3 separate regions of the Homo sapiens genome follow, and all the other regions are linked to region 2. Evidence: promoter capture Hi-C in 16 types of primary human blood cells and fetal thymus (Javierre and others, 2016). All regions are on one chromosome and are shown on one strand. Each heading gives the region's core, a stretch centred on a gene start or on the middle of the fragment in contact. The rest is flanking DNA. Distances are from core to core; before and after follow the strand shown. Region 1 has its middle 62 kb from the start of IL1R1. Region 2 holds the start of IL1RL2 (interleukin 1 receptor like 2). Region 3 has its middle 69 kb from the start of IL1R2.

What was found. Contacts are between HindIII fragments. The CHiCAGO score rates a contact against its expected background, and 5 or more counts as called.
Region 1: a contact is called between a fragment that was not itself captured here and the fragment with the promoter of IL1RL2 in region 2, in 2 of 17 cell types (activated CD4 T cells and M2 macrophages). The highest score is 6.8, in activated CD4 T cells.
Region 3: a contact is called between a fragment that was not itself captured here and the fragment with the promoter of IL1RL2 in region 2, in 1 of 17 cell types (activated CD4 T cells). The highest score is 5.9, in activated CD4 T cells.

The regions. Positions count from the first base shown.
Region 1 is chr2:102,078,831-102,082,032 of GRCh38, reverse strand. It overlaps a transcript of IL1R1 not described here. Among named protein-coding and RNA genes, the nearest start is that of IL1R1, 62 kb to the left of the region's middle. The HindIII fragment of the contact is 5,005 bases long and covers 1-3,202 here.
Region 2 is chr2:102,185,507-102,188,682 of GRCh38, reverse strand. It overlaps IL1RL2 (interleukin 1 receptor like 2), which reads right to left and starts at 1,660. Exons shown (of 12, transcript NM_003854.4): 1 at 1,597-1,660; 2 at 758-827. The coding sequence starts at 815. RefSeq lists an enhancer at 1,475-2,004. The HindIII fragment of the contact is 3,870 bases long and covers 1-2,292 here.
Region 3 is chr2:102,059,841-102,062,989 of GRCh38, reverse strand. No RefSeq gene overlaps it. Among named protein-coding and RNA genes, the nearest start is that of IL1R2, 69 kb to the right of the region's middle. The HindIII fragment of the contact is 2,113 bases long and covers 774-2,886 here.

The sequences.
Region 1 (3,202 bases), core at 234-2,733, 110 kb after region 2:
GAGGTGGGACCTAGGAATCTGTGCCCTCCAGGTATTCTGAGGCAGGCTAACATTTGATAAACAATAAACGAAAATGCTCTGTAGCCCATGTTTTAACTTCTTTAAAAGTAGAACTGCCTTTACTCTCTTTCATTCTTCCAAAGCATCCCAGGCAAATGGGCCATTGATAATGATGACTGATGACTGGGTAGTTCATCTCACAGCCACCAACGTAATCAAGAGAGGAAGCCACTGGAGTTGCTCAACCATTAAGCCCAAATCCACTATCAAACTGAAGCCATTAGGACTTCCAGTGTAGCCTGCAACACATGTGTTTCTCTGATATTCAGATGAGAATCAAGTCGCCATTCAGGCCTAATTCGCCTTCGCCTTCTAAACAGGGTGGGGGCAAATCCCCTAGCCCTTTTCTTTGTCAGGAAGCTGGATATTCACTGATAGATGGGGTGCTTTTCAAACCACTGACCCCAGGACAGGGAAGGAGCTGTTATTTCCTGTCCCTTGTACAGTTAGTCTAACTCAATCCTCATTCGTACTCTAGAATGAAAACTTGATCATTTGTAGAGCAATGCCTGAAACCACCGTGGAGCCAGGCTGGTAGATGCCCTGGTACATTGCAGGTTGGAAGATTATTTCCATGGATCTTGGGAGAGCACCAGATGCAGGCCATTGGGTGTGGTTCAAACTCTTCCATCCCAGGCTCCCTTAGCTGGTTGTAACTAATTCAGCATATTTCTGCAGGATTTGCAAAAATCTCTACAGTTAGAAATAGATACTCTCATATATTCTTATTTTAATGAGAATTTTATTGAGATGTCATTCACACAGCATAAAATTACCCTTTTAAAAGTGTACAATTCAAAGGGTTTCAGTATATTCATAGAGTTGCGCACCCATCACCACTATCCAATTTCAGAGCATTTTCATCACCCCCAAAAGAAACTTCATACTCATTAGCAATCACTCTTCGTTCCCCTTTCTTCTAGCCCCTGGCAATCTATATACTACTTTCTGATTCTATAAATTTGCTTATTCTAAGCATTCCATATAAATGGAATTATACAATGTGTGGGCTTCTGTAACTAGCTCCTCTCACTTAGCATAATGCTTTCAAGGTTCCTCTATGTTGTACTGTGTATAGGTAGTACTTCACTCCTTTCCATGGCTGAATAATATTCCGTTGTTTGGATATACTGCATATTGTTAATCCATTCATCCATTAATGGACATTTGGGTTGTTTCTATGTTTTGGCTATTTTGAATAATGTTGCTATGAAAATTGGTGTACAGATTTTTGTGTTGTTAATTATGTCACATAGATACCTAGGAGTGGAATTGCTGAGTCATATGGCAACTCTATGTTGAACATTTCAAAGAACCACAAACTATTTTAAAAGTAGCTGTACCATCTTACATTCCTTCCAGTAATAAATGAGTGTACCAGTTTCTCTATGTCCTCACTAACATTTATTATTTCTGGCCTCTTTCATCCCGTCATTCTAGTGGATGGCATCTTAGTATGTTTTGCTTTGCGTTTGCTAATGACCAGTAATGTCGAGCATCTTTTAATGTGCTTAGCAACCCTTTATCTATCTTCTTCAGCGAAATGTCCATTCAAATCTTTTGCTCACTTTTTAATTGGGTTGTCTTTTTATTGTTAATTTATCAGAGATTTGTGCATATTATGGATACAAGTTCATTATCAGATAATTTGCCAATATTTTATCCCACTCCATGAGCTATATTTTCACTTTCTTAAGAGAGTACTTTAAAACATGAAAGGATTTAATTTTGGTGAAGTGCAATTATCTATTTTGTTGTTGCTTGTGCTCTGGCGCTGTATACTTAAGGAAGCATTGCCCAATTCAAGGTCACAAAGATTTATATTTATATTTCCTTCTAAGAGTTTTGCAGTTCTAGATCATACGTTTAGTTCTATGATTGCTTTTTGAGTAAATTTTTGTGTACAGTATGAGATAGAGATGCAAATTTTTTCTTCACATGTGGATATCCAGATGTCCCATCACCTTTTATTAAGAAGATTATTCTTTCCCCCACTGAATTGCTGGCATCTTTCTTGGAACCAATTGACCATAAACGTAAGGGCATATTTCTGAATTCTTAATTCTATTTTTATTGATTTTTATATTTATACTCTGAGAACATCCTACTGTCTTGGATACCGTTGCTTTGTAGTAAGTTTTAAAATGGGAGTGTAAGTCATTGACTTTGTTATTTTTCAAGATTGTTTTGGATATTCTCCATCCTTTGCATTTCCTTGTGTATTTTATGAGCAGTTTCTCAATTTCTGCAATAAAGGCAATTTGGATATTCATAAGGATTGTGATAAATCTGGGATACATTTGGGGAGTACTGCCATCTTTAAAAAAGTTAAGTCTTCTGATTCATGAACATGGGATGTCTTTCAATTAATTGAGCGATTTTAAAATTACTTTCAATAATATTTTATACTTTTAGTGTACAAGTCTTATACTTCTTTTCTTAAGTTTATGCTATTTTATTCTTTTTGAAGCTATTGTAAGTAGAATTGTTTTCTTAATTTCATTTTCAAATTTTTCATTGCTAATATATAAAAATACAATTAATTTTCATATATTGATTTTGTATCTTGCAAACTTACTGAGCTTGTTTAGTAGTCTAATAGTTTTTAGTGGATTCCTTAGAATGTTCTATATACAAGACCAGGTCATTTGAGAATAGAGCTGGTTTTTTCCAATATGAATTTTATTTCTTCTTGCCAAATTTCCCTAGCTAGCATTCTTAGTACAATGTTGAATAGAAGTGGTAGGATTAAACATCCTTCTCTTCTTCCTGATCACAGAGGGAAAGCTACTGGTCTTTGATCATTAAGTATAATGTTAGCTGTGGGGTTTTTTGGATGCCCATTATCAGGTTAAGAAAGTCCTCTTCTATTACTACTCTGCTGATTTTTGTTGGTTTGTTGTTGTTGTTGTTGTTGTTTTTAATCTTGAAAGGGTGTCAGATTTTATCAGACATTTTGTCTGCATCTATTGAGATGATTATGCAATTCCATCCTTTATTCTATTAATATGTTGCATTACATTGATTGATTTTTGGATGTTGAAATAATGTTGCATTCTTAGGATAAATCCCACTTGGTCATGGCATATGATTCTTTTATAGCTGCTCTATTTCATGTCCAGTGTTTTGCTGAGGATTTGTA
Region 2 (3,176 bases), core at 411-2,910:
AAAAGGTATTTCATCCCAAAACGATTGTTTAAGAAAAAAAATTTGGTTCACTTTTAAAGTTCATTTCTACCAAATTTCCTTTTTTTTTTTTTTTTGAGACGGAGTCTCTCTCTGTCGCCCAGGCTGGAGTGCAGAGGCTCAATCTCGGCTCACTGCAAGCTCCGCCTCCCGAGTTCACGCCATTCTCCTGCCTCAGCCTCTTGAGTAGCTGGGACTACAGGCGCCCGCCACCGCGCCCGGCTAATTTTTTTAATGTATTTTTAGTAGAGACGGGGTTTCACCGTGTTAGCCAGGATGGTCTAGATCTCCTGACCTCGTGATCCGCCCGCCTTGGCCTCCCAAAGTACTGGGATTACAGGCATGAGCCACTGCGCCCGGCCATACCAAATTTCTTAGAAGAAATTTGTTCTATTGACGGTTTCCTTGCTTTCACCTTGTGTCATAAAATAACGCTTTATCTTATAAAATAGCCTGTAGTAATTCCATTTGAGCATTGTTACTCAAGTCTTCACTTGGAATTTGCCTAACTCCTTCCCCTCCCCGAAGTCACCTCCAAGCTCAAAGGCGACATTCAGGGCTGAGCATCCGAGCACGTGGAGCTGGTTCTCTGTTTCCTCTTCCGCGGAACTCCGCCTGGCGGTCTGGGGAGGGGAAGGAGCCGCGCTCGGGCTGACGCGATCCCCGGGGGCTCCCAATGACAGGCCAGGAGCCTGTGGACTCGGGCAGCCTCTGGGAACGGAGGACACACGGAACGTACCTGCTGTGACAGACAGTGGAAGGGCGATGGACAACCCGCAGAGCAGCAAGGACCACATCCCCAAACCGGGCTGCAAGGAAGGGAGAAGAGGGTGGGAGGGGAGGACGCAGTAGGGCGGGCCCGAGGCGCCGGCGTGGGCGACCTCGGAATCTCAAAGACAACCGCCCAGGCCGCTGACCTTCCCTTTTTCCTGGGGAGCCCTCCGACTTTGGCCCCACGTTTCCCCAAAGACTGCCCTTCCCCTGTCTCCTTCGTCTGGGCGCCCGACCAGGATCCAGGGCAGGGAGCTCGCCCCGCCGCAGAGGAGGATGGGCGAGGAGTAGGCGGCGGCGGCGGTGGGGACCGCGTGGGAGCTGCTTCTGCCACCTGACAGCGAAGCAGGCTGGTGTCCAGAGCCCCCGTGAGGGCCAGGGCGCCCCCCAGCGCAGCCTGCGGCCTGGGTTCCAGACGTGGGACCCCAACCCCGCTCGCGGCGCACGGAGCCTCCCCTGCGCGCCTGTGTCCTCGGGATCCACCCGAGCCTGGCGGTCTAAACAGAAACCCCAAACACCCGCTCACTGGGGAGCAGCCAGGGCAGGCCTACCTGGCAAGGGCCAGCGGGAAAGGAGAAAGGAAGGCAGGGAGCCGCTGGAGCTGAAAATAGCCGCGAGCTCCACTCCTCGACCCAGAGACGGAGTCGGCTCCCCCATGGTCACCTAGCCGGTCGGGGGCCGGCCTGGGGGGCCTGATCCCTGGCCTGCGGTGGCACACATTGTTGCCACGTCTTTTCCTGCACACCTCTCCTACTGTCAGGGCCCCACCCATGCCTGGCTCAGCCAGACTCCCGGCCCGGTGTCTACCTGCCTGCAGGATTGAAGCGCGCAGGACCTCGTGGAGAGTGGAAAATATGACAGGGACACGAGCCCTGTCATGCCACTTCCATGCCTAGGTATTTCCCCGCCACCGTGGGCGGGGCAGACCTGCCTTCCCCAGTGGAGCGTAGGAAGGAATGTGACATCACACTAGGAAGTGGCTTGAAAGTCTTTGAGCCTGATTTTCTGGCATCTAAGTCCTTCATCACCAGGAGTGTCTGCTTAAGTCTATTCCAAGTTGAACGTCTAAATGAATTATTCATTCCTTTCCAAATCCTATTTGAGCAGTTACTGCATGCTCTGCATTGGCCTATGTGGAATGACCCCAAAGTGGAAGCCATCCCAAATGGCTTCTAAGGAGAATTATGAATCTGCCTGAGTCGTGCTCATTAACTTCTGTAAGGCAGGAATCCCATGGTGTTCAAGTACTTCAGAGCCTGAAGACTGTTCCTGTCTAAAACTTCCCGATAAGGTGATGTCAACAGGGACCTGTTGCCCTAGCCATCAGGAGACACCCCAGAGTCATCCCACAGGGCACTGAGTTGTAGGAAAAGGTTCAAAATGTAATCTCCATTCAATAGATTACTGGTCAAGCTCTTCCCAACGGTCTTTGAAAGATCAGAGACAGTGAGACAAAAGCAACCATAGGAGCAGAGATGCAATAATTGTGCTAATAGCAAAGCTTCCTGTGATAGGCTGAAGGTCAGTGGTTTGTAGATTTCTACACTCTTAAAAAGTATTGAGGATTCCAAAGTGCTTTTGTCTATGTAGGTTATGCCTGTCAATATTACTACATTAGAAGTTAAAGGGAGAATTTTTAAACGTTTACTTTCTTATTTAAGTGACAATAAACCCATTACATGTTAACGCAAATATCATACAATTTATGAAAAATAACTCTACTTTCTAAAACAGGCTTATTGAGAAAAGCGGCATTGTTCTACATAGATGCAGATCTCTTTGATGTCTGGCTTACTAGAAGATGACTGGATTCTCATACTTGCTTCTGCAATCAGTGTCATGATATAATATGTCATATAGCTTCTGAAAAGGTCCACCATACACTAATGAGAGAATGAGAATAAAAAAGGAATATAAGGTCTTAATATTACGATGAACATAGTTTTGATTTCACAGATCTTTTTGAAGGGTCTCTCAGGGACCCATAGGGCTCCCACTCTTTGAGGACCTCTTTCTTAAGCTATAAATAGAGATTATTATTTATTTCCCCTACTATCAGCAGTAAACGAGGTTCCTCTGTATATGTATATTCTTCAGCGTTTATGTCCTCATCCAAAACAAAACAAAAGTGTTACTATTTTTATAAAAGTCATATGATTTGCATTCAGAATTATTTCTATGAGCAGTGTTGAAAGGTATTTCTAAATCTTTATGCTATCTTTTTTCATTTTCACTTTATGAATAGATGCATTTGTGTCCTATCTTATTTCTTAGCCTGAGGACTAGTATATATGCCAAGTTTAATGGGTATTGTTGCCCCAAAATGTATGAAGTTAAGACAGGCCATCCCAGTCCCCTGCAGTGCCTCTCACTGGACACTTCTGACA
Region 3 (3,149 bases), core at 581-3,080, 130 kb after region 2:
CAATCACGTTTAAGACGCTCCTGCCAGGGGATCCTAGGGCACTATGTGCCAAGCCTCATGCCAAGGGCTTTCCATGTATTATCTCATTTCCCCCTCCCCTAATCCCACAGGTTCAGAACTACTCTTTTCCCCATTCACAGATGAAGAGTCAGAAACCTCAAGATCTTATATAAATTTCTTAAGGTCACCACCATCTCATGCTGTCTGTCTGCTGCGGCATACATAATCACTACTGTTTTCAATGGACGTGTTAAGTTACCAAGAAAAGATTAAATGTATGCAATGACCTCTGCTTAAGAATGCGTGGGTGTACTAAGTTTTCAGAAAAGGTTAAATGTGTGCCATGAGCTCTGCTTCAGAGTGCAAGCCATGGTGAAATTGATTCTGCAAAGATTAATGTGCAAAATAGTTCCAAGTTTCTAAAGTTGAGTGTTCTGAGCAGTAAGCTCTGTTTCCTGGAAATTTTACTTTACAGAACATTCTTCAGTGATGCTCAAGAAGTGAGATGTGTCTGTTCTGTAAAGATGAGTCAGGAGTAGTCAAGAAGCAGGAGAATTGTCAACTCTGACACACCAGAAATGACACTCAGCAGGGCTTAGCAACCATGGTCTCTTCTCTGAACCCATGAAGTGAAGTGGAAACTGGAGGGGTGTCAGCCAAGTTACAAAGGAATGGCTGAAGCTGGGAGGCCCCACAGGAAAGAAAACGCTGGAAAAATAGAAGCTTCTGGCCCCAGTGTTCTCACGCATGACCATAATAATTAAAAAGAAGCTTTGGCAGCCACCCCAGAGCAAGCTCATGAGGAGAGATGGGTCACAGAGCTGACCAGCAGTTCTGGAGTGAGGGTGGCCCTGGAGAAGCTGAAGTCCCAGGGGACGCCTGCATCTGCATGGCAGGAACCAAGTCTGTCAGTGATTCTCCTCTCCCTCGAAACCATCACTGCAAGATCCCGCTCTGCCATTTACTAGCTGTGTGACTTTAGGCAAGTTACTCAACCTTTCTGAGCCTCAATAAATGGTAGCTAATATTATTGTTTATTGTTATTAAAAGCAGTTAAATCTTTATAGGGTCATGTAACGCACAGCCATAATCAGGTAGCACTGGGAGAGGCAAACATTTCTAAAATAGTAAATATTTTAGACACTGTAGGCCAAGAAGCATATTTCATATGTTATATATACATAAAATATATATGATATATGTGTGTGTATTTATATAATGTAGATACTTCTATAACAAGAGAGAAACCTCTGCATGCCTGGCCCTATCTGCCTGGGGTGGGCTTCCTGTGGGCAGGCACAGTGTGCCCTGAACCCACTGGAGACGGTCCTGGGAAGAAGGGCAGCCTGATGGAGGGAGGGGCCTGGCAAGCCAGCTCAGTGGGCTTAGGGAGTTGAAGGGGACTTGGCCACCACGGTCATTTTCTCTCTTTGCCCCAGGGACAACCAAACCAGCTCCTCCTGGAGATCCCGGCCCCCTCCCTCTGGACAGCTGAACGGAAGTGAAGCTAACACGTCACCAATTCCCAGACTTAGATTCTGCAGCCTGGCGCCCCGCATTGCAACAGCAGAGCCCCCATGCTGTAGGAGTGACCAGCATGGGCCCTGTGTGGCAGGAAGGTGAGTCCTCTGGCAGGGGAGGCAGGTGCTGGAAGCCAAGTAGGGGACAGGGACAGATGGAACCACCTCAGCTTGGGTCCTGCAGCTCACAGCGCTTGCAGAGTGTCCCTGAGCCATACAGAAGTAGGTGACCACCCACAGTTTGTCAGTGGGTCATAGTTTGCTGACCTTAGATGTAGCAAAAGAGACCTAAATGTGACCCCAGTGTGGTTGCAGGGAGTAACCAGTGAGCACACCCGTGCCAGCGTTCTCCAGAGCACAACCCATTAAGGGATCACAAAAGCACGTCAGTGGCTCACCACCAGCATCTTTTTAATGAAACAAAGAGAATGGATTCTCTCCAGGTTTTTTATGGCATTCATATGGATAAGCATATATGCTCTGGGCACCATGCCAAATGTACTTCTTACTGAGGACTGGGTGCTAGGCACAGTTTTTGGCTTCTGTATCCCTCAAAAGAGGTGTTTTCATCTATTTTTCAAACATTCGTGGGGCATCTGCCTTGAAAGTTTAAGAATAAGCTCCTTGAGGAACAGGGTCAAGTCCCAGCTTTCCATTAACTCTGAAACCTACCACCTTGGCACATGGGCAGGAAGTGAAGGGAAGACAAGGGAGTTTGCTGGCTTCTGAGACAAATGTATATTCCTGGGAGGACCCTGGAGAAGTGAAGATCTTTGGTAGTACCTCTGGATGCATCTCACACTTATCATCCCACCAGAAGATCTTAGAGGCCTCCAGTCTGGAGGTTTCCAGACTGTGCTCTGAGGAGGCCCAGGGTTCCGCAATGTGCTTCAGGGGTGCCCAGGGAAAGAGGTTCTTGCTTTCCTCTTCTAACTTCAACTGGAGCAGCTTTGCACTTTTTTATGTATGTTTTAAGGTGACATGTAAATTTCTTCTGTCCAAAGGGCTCCAATTCCAGAGCATTGAACAATCAAAAGGCCTGAAAACTATCTATTTTATTCAACTAATTTAAACCTAGGAAAACCTCAAATACCCAAGAAAAGTCAGCAGTGGATAGGGAGACTGGCCCTCAGACCTCTGCTCCCCACCCTGTTCAGCAGTCCTTTCACCACACTCCGCTGCAGCCCTGCTGAGTCCAATTCTGCTCTGGGAGCAATTCCCAGTGGACACGTGGCAGTCCAACAAGACAGTGTTATAACAGCAGGCTCCAAATCAAAGGAAAAGCAGAAGACAACACACACTGTTTTAAATATCATAGAGAGACCATCCCTGAAGTTGTTTATCGTGATTCAGACATGGACAAGCTTTGGGATCTTGGACAAGTCACTTCACATCTCTGGACTTTGTTTCTGCAGTCCTCTCTGGCCCTCCGTTCTGAGTCCCCATGGATAGAACTGATCATCACTAGAGAGAAAGGAGAGCCACAGACCTAATCTCCCAGGTGTCAGTTATTAACTCCACCAGTATAACATGCCCTCTGAGGAGTGGTGGCAGTGGCCATCTGCAGTCCACCTCCGCAGCAAGATGAAGCCTCCTGGAGAAGCCATGGAGGTGGAGAGAGATTCAGGC